Regions from separate parts of the Homo sapiens genome. Here region 1 is linked to region 2. Evidence: promoter capture Hi-C in 16 types of primary human blood cells and fetal thymus (Javierre and others, 2016). All regions are on one chromosome and are shown on one strand. Each heading gives the region's core, a stretch centred on a gene start or on the middle of the fragment in contact. The rest is flanking DNA. Distances are from core to core; before and after follow the strand shown. Region 1 holds the start of SCOC-AS1 (SCOC antisense RNA 1). Region 2 holds the start of SLC7A11 (solute carrier family 7 member 11).

The links. Contacts are between HindIII fragments. The CHiCAGO score rates a contact against its expected background, and 5 or more counts as called.
Region 1: a fragment that was not itself captured here is called in contact with the fragment with the promoter of SLC7A11 in region 2 in 1 of 17 cell types (fetal thymus); the score reaches 5.4 in fetal thymus.

The regions. Positions count from the first base shown.
Region 1 is chr4:140,367,468-140,373,785 of GRCh38, forward strand. SCOC-AS1 (SCOC antisense RNA 1) reads right to left here and starts at 5,925. Exons shown (of 5, transcript NR_033939.1): 1 at 5,796-5,925; 2 at 1,843-1,883. It overlaps SCOC (short coiled-coil protein), which reads left to right and starts at 6,179. Exons shown (of 4, transcript NM_001153484.2): 1 at 6,179-6,250. RefSeq lists enhancers at 5,862-6,318, 6,059-6,108 and a silencer at 6,269-6,318. The HindIII fragment of the contact is 4,110 bases long and covers 1,542-5,651 here.
Region 2 is chr4:138,237,370-138,243,850 of GRCh38, forward strand. SLC7A11 (solute carrier family 7 member 11) reads right to left here and starts at 4,980. Exons shown (of 12, transcript NM_014331.4): 1 at 4,424-4,980. The coding sequence starts at 4,700. RefSeq lists enhancers at 4,326-5,525, 4,995-5,234. The HindIII fragment of the contact is 788 bases long and covers 4,373-5,160 here.

The DNA of each region.
Region 1 (6,318 bases), core at 2,347-4,846, 2.1 Mb after region 2:
CTCCCAGGTTCAGGCAGTTCTCCTGCCTCAGCCTCCCGAGTAGCTGGGACTACAGGTGTGTGCTGCCATGCCTGGCTAATTTTTGTATTTTTAGTAGAGACGGGGTTTCACCATGTTGGCCAGAATGGTCTTGATCTCCTGACCTCATGATCCACCTGCCTCAGCCTCCCAAAGTTCTGGGATTACAGATGTGAGCCACTGTGCCCAGTCTAAAGCCAGATTATTTTTATAAAATTTTAGTGAGCAAGTACCCAGCTGACATGATTGAAAATGTAGATTCGTGTTTAGAGAATCACAGAATCACAAAATCACAAAAGCTGGAATGAGGTGGCTCAATGACAACTCACTCAGAAAATATGCTTTGAGAACCTGTGGCAGGCAGGGTGCCAAAAGCTGGATGGTCAGACACAATCTTACCAGCAAAGATTGACTCTTAAATATAGGGAACCATTCACTTAACTCACTGGTAGTGTTGTTTGATAAAGTTCTTAATGTTATTTTACACCATGTTAAGAAGCTAAATGAACTCTCTTCCAAGCCCTCACTTGAGGAAACAGGGGTGGACAGGAAAGTGACTAACTCCCTGCAGTCTCATGGTTAATTTCAAATATTTGAATGCTGTACAGTATCTAGCTCACGATATAGTCACAAAACTAAACTTTTAAATGAGCAAAGAATGGAATGAATTCAATCTAGGCTGAGCCAGAACAAGAACCCAGGTTTCTTCTTCTTCAAACCAATGCTTGTCACGTTGTTGGTAGATCAGAGTTTTCTGAACCAATCATATACCTACATCATAATTTTTGCCACATTAAATTAACCATTTAATTAAAATCAGTTTTGAACTTAGCTTTATTCTAAGCAACATGTTAACATCTGTGAATTGAGAATTTCTTGTATTATTCGTATTTATTATAATAAAATAAACATGTAATTATTTTTAAAAATTCATCTTGTACAACCAGAGGTATAAATACCAATTCTGGGGGAAATGCTAATTTGAAAATACTATCTAGAGAAAAATAAGGACTGTAAACCAAAAAGTATCTCAGACAGGTCTCATTCAATTTAGAAGTTGATTTTGCCAAGGTTAAGGACATACCTGGAAGAAAAGAACACAGAATCACAGAAACAGTCTCTGGTCTGTTCCTTTATCCAAGGATGACTTTGAGAGCTTCAGTATTTAAAGGGGAAAAGTGGGTTGGAGAGGTAAGAGCGAGGGTATAGTAATCTAAGTTGCAGGAGAAAAGGCGCAGGTAGGGGAATGGTGAATGATGCATTCATCTTGTGTGCAGCAAATCAGCACTTTACATGAAATAGGGTGAACATAGAGTAGCTACCTATGGAGATATTTAACCTTTTATCTGTAGCTATCTGCTTAGGAACAGAAGAAAAGGCAGCTTCTTGCATGACTCAGCTTTCAGCTTATTTTTTTCCTTCTGGCAGAGTGAACTGGAGTCTCACGTTTTTATTCTCCTTTCACAGCACCGAGACTGCACAGAATCATTCCTAATTATTTCCATTTTTATGATAAAGTCCAAAGCTTGATTCCATAAAGACCTTGAAATCCTTTGGAATTCTTGCTTGAAAAAACTCTAAAAGTACATTGGTAATTTCTTACATTCCCTCTACCTATTGAACAAATAAATGAAAATGACTCATCAAATTTATTTACTTTTGGTTATTATCAGAAATTATAATCTTGAGAAAGTATACATGAACACCTTAATTTACCAAATAGCTATATGGTATACTGTTGAGTATAGTATACTAGGCTGTAGTATACAATTACGTCTAGTTTTGAAATCAAGTTTTAACAAATAGGTTATATTCTTTACTCACCAAATTCAGAACAGCATTCATTCTCCAATGAATTCAATAACCTTTCAAGTGAAAAAAATGAGTAAAAAAGAAAATGTGAGTTCTTATTTAGGAATGAGATGGAACATGTTCTGCAAATTAATGAGCTTAAAGCATCAGACAACACACCTGGTTATACTTGAAAGTTATCAAAAATGCTTCCATTTAGCATATTTCACCTTAAATATCCACAGTACGTTTAGAACCCTCTAATTAAGACAAAATAGCAGCTTGTATGTGCACAATGAGAGTGTGCCAGACTGGAACATCAAAAAGATATTGGAAGTTCTCTATTTCATTATTTATCATTTCTTCCCCCACATAATATATTGCCTTGTACAGTTTTCAATTAGGACTTCCCCCATTCTCTAGGAAAAAAAATGTAATTTTGTGCCTTTATTTAGATGAACTATATTATCAATATTCACATAGTCCAGGTCGCATGAATGTTCACCTTATAATCAAATATTTCTATGCAATCTCAGTGGTTTCTATTTGTACTTATAGCCTTTCCTTATTCAGAAGGGGGATTTTTTTTTTTTTTTTTTTTTTTTTTTTTTTTTTTTTTTAGATGGAGTTTCGCTCTTGTTGTCCAGGTTGGAGTGCAATGGCGCCATCTCAGCTCACTACAACCTCCACCTCCTGGGTTCAAGCAGTTCTCCTGCTTCAGCCTCCCAAGTCTGAAAGCTGAAAATAAGCTGAAAGCTGAGTCATGCAAGAGCTGCCTTTTTATGTTTACATTTTAGTTTAAAATTACTTTCTAATTTTTTTGTGTGTGACTTCCCCTGTGACCCATGGTTTGTTTAGAAGTACATAGTTTGATTTCCAACTATTTGGAGATTTACAAATATCTTTCTGTTACTGATTTCTAGTTTAATTTGTGGGTAGAGACAATAATTTTTACTGTTTCAATTATTTTAAATTTGCTGAGATTTGTTTGATGATACACAGTGGAGTCTATTTTGATGAATTTTCCAAGTGCATTGGAAAAGAAAGCATGTTCTTCAGTTATTGGGTGCAATGTTCTACAAATGTCCATTAGGTCAAGTTGGCTGATAGGATTGTTCAGGTCTTCTATATCAATAGTTCAGAAATTTGCCAGCCTTTTTTCAAAATCACCTTCGTAACTTTCAAAAATACTAATGCCTGTATCTCACTCCTTAAGACTGTAATTTATTCTGAGGTGTGGTCTGTTCACTAGAATAATTAAAAGATTCCCAGGTGATTCTAATATACTGAAAAGTTTGGGACCTGAGTTCTGTATACTTAAATTATCTGTATAGTTGTTTTACAAATTGCAGAGCAGGGAGTAATGAACTGTTTGAATTCAATTAATTTTTGATTCATTTCTATTTTGTAGCACTGTGGTTAGGATTTTGTGTCTTCTTGATGAATATGCCCCTTTATCTAATTGTTTTAATGTTATTTTACCTAATTATTAGTGAAGGTAAACATTTTTTAAAAACCTTTCTGGCCGTTCAGTTTTCCTCTTCTGTAAGTGGCCTACTTACGTTATTTGCATATATTTATCTTGAGTTGTCTTTTTCTTACTGATTTGTCTGAATTCTTTTTTTTTTTTTTGAGACGGAGTCTCACCCTGTCGCCCAGGCTGGAGTGCAGTGGCACCATGTCACTGCAAGCTCTGCCTCCTGGGTTCATGCCACTCTCCTGCCTCAGCCTCCCGAGTAGCTGGGACTACAGGCGCCCGCCACCACGCCCAGCTAATTTTTTGTATTTTTAGTAGAGACGGGGTTTCACCGTGTTAGCCAGGATGGTCTCAATCTCCTGACCTCGTGATCCACCCGCCTCGACCTCCCAAAGTGCTGGGATTACAGCCGTGAGCCACCGCGCCTGGCCTGAATTCTTTATATTTTGAGAGTTTTACTATATTCTGCCAACCTGTGGCTTGTTTTTTAACTTGATTAGAGATGGCTTCTCTTCTGTTTGTAAAACTTCCAAATTTTAAAATAATCAATATTTTACATCTTTCCTTAATGAATCGTGCTGTTTCTTCCCTACGGCGATATACAGACATACGCTTTTCTTCTAAAAGTTTAGAGTTTTGTTTGTCACATTTTGGATCATTATTTCATTTGGAATTTAGTTTTATTTCTGTCGTGGTATCAGGATTGAATTTCTTATTTTTATATAAATAGCCAATTTAACTAGAACCACCATAACTTGTGTTTTCTATATCCCACGAACAGTTACTATACTAATTTACACTCCCAACAGTAATGAATAATAGTTTTTTCCCCACAACCTTAGAAACAGTTATTCCTCACCAGACATCTTTATTGTATACCAACTTCCAGGTACCCTTTTTTTCCTAATTTTCTTTTTGTCTATTCTTGTGTCAATACCACTTTTTTAAAAGTTGCTTTAAAATAGAATTACCATATGATTCAGCACAAATTAACACACACTTCTGGGTGTATATCCAAAAGAACTGAAAAGAGGGTCTCAAAGAGACATTTGCACACCCATGTCCATAGCAGTATTATTCACAATAGCCAAAAGGAGGAAGCAACCTAAGCGTCCACTGATAGATGAATAAACAAAATGTGGCATAATACACATAATAAATGATATATAGAACTATTCAGCCTTAAAAAGGAAGTTCTGCAATATGCTATAACATGGATGAACTCTGAGGCATTATGCTAAATGAAATAAGCCAGTCATAAAAGGGCAAATTCTGTATTATTCCACTTAGGTGAGGTACCTAGAGTAGTCAAACTGATAAACACAAAGTAAGATGATTACTGCCAGAGGATGAGGGGAATAGGAAATGGAGAGTTGCTCTTTAATAGGTATACAGTTTTAGTTTGGCAAGATGAAAAGAGAGATTGGTTCTGGAGATTGGTTGGAGAACAATGTGGAATGTATCTTATACTACTGAAGTTAAAAATGGTTAAGATGGTAAATTTTATTCTATGTATATTTCACTACAATTAAAAATATTTAAAAATACTGTTCTAGCAAAAACAAAAGGTTGCTTTTAATAGTTTCTCTTGATCTTTGGTGTCCTGCAATTTCACCGTTGCATAGAATTCTTATATTAATCCTGCTCAAGAATAAGTACTTCTTGAATCTGAAAATTCAAATATTCCACAATCTTGGAAAATTCTTAGTTATTACTCTTTGAATACTGCCTGCATCCATTCTCTCTAGTCTCTCTTTTTTGGCACTCCTATTAGATTTATGTTGGATTTTTTTTCATTTATTTAGCTCCTACATTGCATTCTAGTAAATTTCCTCAAACTGAATATTGCAGTCGCAGCCAAATGCATAGTTCTCAAAACACTGAATAGAAGATATTTTTATATAGCTCTTAAAATGATTAAGGCGATGTGTCAGCAAACTGTGCCAGAAGTAAAAAGTCAAGAAACAGGGAGACATAAGGCTTGTCTCTACAGCTTAGGAGGCTGTGCCAAAGCCAAAATAATAATGTATTGCTGTGGATGTCTACCTTGTACTCAACGAATATTAAAGCAGGATGCCGCTTTGTGTCAAGTACTAGATTACGATGAACGGTGTCACGAAGAACACTCCACTCTTGATACCGTATATGTGACCTTGAGCAAGAAATGTGTTCACGCTCAGGCTTCAGTTCCTTTCTGTGGGTTGCTGTGAGGCTCCACAGGGGTAAGGTAAGCACAAGTGCTATGCCTCAGTACCACTAGGGTATTTTCTCAATTCTAAAATATTAAATGGCCACGCACTACAGATTTAATAATAGTTTCGGAGGAGGGGCGTGAGGAGAGGAACATTCCACTAGCTCAACTATAAGCTTTCCGATTTCGGAAATAAGAAAAATATGAAAAAGTCTGCTTTTAGAATTAAGGAACGACGGTGTCGCGTTGACTTTCTCTGCTTGGTTCGCAAACGCTCTTTTCTCGAACTTGAATGACTTCTCTGTCGCTCATACCAACCTCTTTCCTGAATGACTTCTCTGTCGCTCATACCAGCCTCTTTCCTGATTTTCCACACTGGGATTCTCACTCCAATTCTCAGGTTTCCTGATAGACCTGATGAGCCGCTTCACCAGCGCCGCTTAGCTTCGCTTCTTTACTGTCATTGGCTGTCGCTGTTCCAGGTCCCGCCCACAGCGACCTCAATCCTGATTGGATGTCAGTGTCCTTTTGTTATGGCAAAGGTGGATCCCGGTGCTTTGAGATTGGACGACTGGGGTGAGGCGGGCAGCTAATGCGCAGGCGTGTATTCTCGAGTCAGGATTGGCGGGCGAGCGGCTGGGACGGGATGGGATTCTTCTCACGGCGCACGTTCTGTGGGCGGAGTGGGCGGAGCTGCCGGGGTCAGTTGGTCCAAGTGTCCCGGCCTGAGGTGTCGGCCGGATCCCTCCTTCTCCCGGCGCCTCAAGCGGAAGGTGAGGGCCGTCCCGGGCAGCGGAGGGCCTGGCCCCAGGCGACTAGAGCTGCATCCTCAGTACCTCCG
Region 2 (6,481 bases), core at 3,730-6,229:
TTTTGAAGTGTACTCTCTGGGTGTTTTTTTTTGTTTGTTTTTTGTTTTTTTGAGATGGAATTTTTGGTCACCCAGGCTGGAGTGCAATGGCGCTGTCAGCTCATTGCAACCTCTGCCTCCTAGGTTCAAGCAATTCTCCTGCCTCAGGGTCCCGAATAGCTGGGATTACAGGTGGCTGCCACCACATCTGGCTAATTTTCATATTTTTAGTAGAGACAGGGTTTCACCATGTTGGCCAAGCTGGTCTTGAACTCCAGACCTCAGAAGATCCATCCACCTCGGCCTCCCAAAGTGCTGGGATTACAAGTGTGAGCCACTGCGCCTAGCCAGAATATATATATATATATATATATATATATATATATATATTTTTTTTTTTTTTTTTTTTTTTTTTTTTTTGAGATGGAGTCTCACTCTGTCCCCCCAGGCTGCAGTGCAGTGGCACGATCTCTGCTCACTGCAACCTCTGTCTCCAGGGTTCAAGTGATTCTCCTGCCTCAGCCTCTCAAGTAGTTGGGATTAGAGGTGCCTGCCAGCACGCCTGGCTAATTTTTTGTATTTTTAGTAGAGACAGGGTTTCTCAATTTTGGTCGGGCTGGTCTCAAACTCCCGACCTCAGGTGATCTGCTTGCCTTGGCCTCCCAAAGTGTTGGGATTACAGGCGTGAGCCACTGCGCCCGGCCCAGAATATACTTTTTAAAATGAGGTGCTATAATTTATATTTGTGTACTTTAGATCAAATTAACTATAAGCTAAATTTTTAACATTTAACGATACAATTCACATAAAATTGGACAAATATGCAACTCCCCAAAACCTCAGTTTCACTCTCTGTGAAATGGAGATCTCAGCTTCTACCTCATAAAGGAGTTGTGTGTATAAATGTGGCAGCGGGTACCTAGTACAGTACATGGCCTGACACATGGCAAGCACCACATGAAATATAGCTATACTTATTAATTTGAGTAATTAACAAGAAAATTTAAAAAAATCCTGTCATTATGTGAAAAGTTCTATCTGTACTGCCAAGTGCTCAAATGTAAGAACACAATTTTTTTCCAATCTACTTCTGAGAATAAAAGTGTAGAAAAGTACTACTGATTAGTAATAATTTAGACAGAACTGCTCAATATAAATATAATTTGGATATTCAGTGAAATCTTAGTGTTACATATTTTATATCTGATTTCTAAACTTATCATGACATCAAAGTCACCTAGGAATAATTTTTTTTTTTTTTTAATTTTTGAGATAGGGTATCACTCTGGCACCTAGGCTGGAGTGCAGTGGCACAATCTTGCCTCACTGCAGCCTCTGCCTCCTGAGCTCAAGTGATCCTTCCACGTCAGCCTCCCAAGTAGCTGGGACCACAGGTACACACCACCATGCCCAGCTAAATTTTTGTGTATTTTTTGTAGAGGCAGGGTTTTGCCATGTTGCCCAGGCTGGTCTGGAACTCCTGGGCTCAAGGGGTCTGTCTGCCTCAGCCTCCCAATGTGCTGAGATTATAGGCATGAGCCACCATGCTCAGTCTGGGAATAATTTTTAATTCGAAAACACTCAAACCAAAAACAGACTCTAATCAAGAGAGTATAGATTGTCCACAAGAGAAATTCAAGAATCTCTATCATTTTAAAATTTGTACAAATAATTCTAAAGTAACGAGTCTGCAGACTAATATTTGGGGAACACTGATGTATTTCATCTACCTATAACTAATTTTAACTAGTTGCAACTCACTCTCCATGGGGAAACATTCGCCATGTTGGTAGGCTGTCCAGAAAAGGATCCAATATAAAATGTTATTGGGAAGAGTCTTAAGTACCTCAGAATTTATTGTCAGAGAATCAATACCTAGACCTCTATATGCTTTACTGAAACTCCAGGATGGTTGCCCTAGGTTTAAACTGAGTTCTGGGGGAATGATTTTCATTTAAAGGTCTCAAGCTTCATAACCATTTTGCCCAGATGAAAAAAGTTCAAAACAAGATGTAAAAATCCATGTATTGACCCTTCACTTAAAAAAAAAGTATATATATGTATTAAACCAAATGTACAGATTCTTTACAGTTGGTCCCAAAGTTCTAGAGTCTTTTTAAAAAGAAGGATTATTTTTTCTTCAGATTTTGCTTTGCTTGCTGTTACAGAGGCACTCCTGTCCAAAAGCTTCTGGTAACTTAAGTGACAAATGCAATGCAAATAAAGATAAGTAGATTAATACAAGAGCACACTCCCTGCAATTACTAATCAAAGAATACCAACTCAAGTGTAATGTTAGCTAGTCTCCTTAGCTGTTTCTCTCTTTTTATTTTTTTTTGAGCTTTTGCTTCAGATGATATGTAATACTTATGCATAAGCATATTTTCATAGTGCAAGTCAACACACTTTAACTAGTTCAATACTCATACTGATCTATTTTATTACATCTGAATAATCTTTTATTATGTGCAAAAATTGAATCACATAGTGGAAGCTGCATGCACATAAGTACGCAAAGTCCAGTAAACTGGTTGTGGTTTTTCTGATTAGATATTGATTTATTCTGAATATATAAAGTGCTGTAGGAAGATTTAAAGGCTGAGGGTGCACAAAATCATTTAAGATGATCAACAATTAGGTTTCTCTTTTTCTATAAGTGCATATACCAGAGCTATTTTAATATTAATAGTGGCTAAGGGTACTATTAGAGTTTTTCATAATGATATTACTCCAAATTATTTTATAAAGATGGGAAGTAATACTGGGAAATAATGATACACAATTGTTACTGAATATTTAATAAAGCACAAGTTAGTTATAAATAATACCACAAACTCTCTCTAAAAACCCCAAATAATTCCTCTATAAATCTTTCTATACTACTTGTTTTAACAAGTTCTATTTAAAATAACTTCTTCCTAAAAATGGAATTTGAGGACCGGGCGCGGTGGCTCATATCTGTAATCCCAGCACTTTGGGAGACTGAGGTGGGTGGATCACGAGGTCAGGAGATCGAGACCATCCTGGCTAACATGGTGAAACCCCATCTCTACTAAAAAATACGAAAAATAAGCCCAACGTGGTGGCACACACCTGTAGTCCCAGCTACTCGGGAGGCTTAGGCAGGAGAATTGCTTGAACTTGGGAGGCGGAGGTTGCAGTGAGCCGAGATCACACCACTGCACTCCAGCCTGGGCAAAGAGCGAGTCTCTGTCTCAAAAAAAAAAAAAAAATGGAATTTGAGTTCTCTAGATGAGTGTCAAACCAATGATTTAAAACATCACAAGGCCTGAGTAGAAAGAATGAATTGATTGGTACACATGGGAACAGGAGTTAGTACTTGTTAATTAGTCCTAGAGTTAGCGTTAGTACTTGTTAGTTAGTGTTAGTCCCAGAGTTAAGACAAAGAGCAACTTTAAAGTACAGAATCTTTCCCAAGAAGAGTAAATAAATCCTCATAGCATAAATCAAATTTAATGTTTGACAGTTCACCAGTTTTTATCATCTTTACAACAAACTCAGGTAGCTCTCTAGTAATTTGCCTACTCCATAAGGGGGCATTTATTTACCTCTTTACTATTAATTCTCAGATCAATAGAAGAGACATAAACTTTGAAGAAAAATTCATAATTATACTTCTGCCAGTTCCCTTCAGATTAATTTAGTGAACAGGTGGACAAATTCTCTGTGTCCCTGGAGAACAAGTGAAATATAATGAAAAAAACAGATCTGGGCAAGTACAGAAAACTAACGCCCAACTGAAGTTTTAAAACTTATATTGCAAAAGTGTATGGGTATTGAGAAGAGATGAAAGGTTGAAAAGTAATTTGAAATATGCTCAGGCCATTGCAATATACCCCATTATGATAGGGATTGAGTTATGCGCCATCATACATCTCTCCCATGTCAAGGACTTTTGAAAGGATATTAAGAGGTGACAAGCACATGAACTTAAAAAATATTTTTATAAAGACTGCCACCCATTTGTTTGGCTAATAAAAAGTCAGTAAGACTTCTGCTGAACACTCCGTTCTATGTCTAAATAGCCCATGCCAGGTTCCACTTCACAGGTGTCTCATTCAGCATGCCAGCTGCCAGAATGCCCAAGCTAAGTGTACAACTGCCCGGCACAGAAAGTGTGCATGTTTTTTACTGGGTCATGAAAGTTAGCCTTTGCTCTCATCACCACAGAGAAAAGTCAGAAGATAGCCTGTCTTAGTCAGGAAAAGAAAGTACAGCCTGTAGGAAGCAATTTGAGGGTGTTCCAGATCACACCAACAGCGGATGCTGCATCTGGGTAGTTCACGTACCCGAACAAAAATTTTAAAAATTTGGTGTGGCCTTTGCCATCCATTCACTCCTCAAAAACTACCATTTGCTTTCCCAGAAAGCAAGCTTTCCAGCCCCACAGCCACGCCCCCACGAGAGAAAAAGTCGCACTCACCAAATAGTGACAGGACCCCACACACCGTCCAGATGGTCAGAGACATGCCCACGCTGCCCGTGTTCTGGAGCACGCCCTTAGGAGAGATGAAGATTCCTGCTCCAATGATGGTGCCAATGATAATGGAGACTCCCCTCAGTAAAGTGACTTTCCTCTTCAGCTGCACTTTCTCCTGCCCAGGTGGCTCCTTGTTGCCCAGGGAAGGCAGCCTCCCGTTAACATTTCCCTGCAGGTAACCTCCTTTGGAGATGGTGGACACAACAGGCTTTCTGACCATAGTAGGGACACACGGGGGAAAAATAAAACAGAGGGAAAGAAAACAAAACTTTCAACTTTGGTGTCTCTTGGTGTTACTGATCGATGTCTTCCTCTGCTTTCAGACTGTCTCTCTCAGCGCTATAGTGTTCACAGGTGAAAACTCAAAGGTGTGCTTTTTCCTTCACAGCGATCTAATTACTACTCAGAAACACCTGTGTATGCATCGTGCTCTCAATTCTCCACCTCCTCGTTCCACCACTGCTGCTGCTGCTGCTGCTGCCGCCCTATCATTACAAACCAGCTCAGCTTCCTCATGGGCTTGTATTTAAGCGCCTGCCTGTCACACCAACTTACTACAGCTAAATGATGATGCAAATTCTCCAGGTTTGCATCAGCCACATGAGAAGCCTCCAGCATTACTCAGCTCTTTTTTTTAAAAAAAGAAAAAAACAGGAGGAGCTTGTTGCTCAACTGACCTAAGCTTTTTAGAGAACAAAGCACACACTTTAAAGAGATTTTAGCCAATCCAGAAGTAGTAAATTCGGAACAGACCTTCCCAGAGATTTAAAGCAACTCGTAGTGAGCAACAAAAGCTGTTCAAACAAAATGAAACAGGAAATAGTTACTTCATTTTAAGGAGTTTCTTTTTCTTTAATGCGTGTATAAAAACATTTTACATGCGACTGTTTTGTGAGTAGAATGTATCCTAAAGCTACATTGTTTATAACAACACAGTTTGAATTTCATAATTTGTGTAATGCTTTTTATTTTTTTATTTTGAGTTTTTTATAAGGCAATACAGTCAAATCCAATATTTACAAAATTAAAGATTCTACACTTTATACTTCTGTCACATACACACAACTATAAGCCTTCCTCAACATTAAAAGATAAAATTATTTCTTACTACTCATAATAAACCAGTATTTTAAATCACCATCCGAGTGTGACTAATACAAAATTCACCATGACTCCAGAAAATAGTCATTTTCTGATTCTCATTAGCACTAGGTGATTTTTTTGAACTATGTAAAAGATACATATCCTTCATTGTCATGTTGTTCCTTTGAATTACCAAAAAAAATTTCTAAGTTCAAAATTACACAATTACAATTACATAAAAATATGTATATAGCAAAAGCCTGTAAAGGAAAACAGAATGGTAGTTATAGAAAGTAATGATATTATGTATGACTTTTTTCCACATTATATAAACTATTGTTATTATTATAAATTTAAAATGCATTAAAAATGTAAGCTAAATTAAAATATTTACTTTGCAATAGTCAAAAAGGCAAAACATTTTTAAACCCTTCTAACTTTCTCAACCAAGTGTCAAGAAAAAACAAATATGAAAAGAAAAGAAATCCTAGATATCATTTTTGGCTATAGTTACATGTGGTTTTGGATTCAGTGAGAAGAATTGAATGTTATCATTACCCTGAAGCTACCTTTATACGCACCATTAAATAAGCTTCTGAACCTTTGAACAAAAACCACAAACAAAAAGCCTGTGTGCGAGAGGTTGGCAGGGAAAGAAGGGAGTCAAGTATGGTGAGGATGATCAAAGAAAGAAATGAGAAATCGCCATTAGGAAAGTAGCATGGAAAAGGTCAGAACCATTTTCTGTTATGTTGACACCTGAGAAAATGACACCACCTCAATGCTTTGCCATCCAAATAATTGAGGCTACATTTTCTCCTTTTTAAATTATCTATCTAAATTCTATATAATTGGTTTCAGCTACACCAAGTTAAAGTTTTTATAAAACCAAAATAAATACTTTTTCTCAGTTGTTAA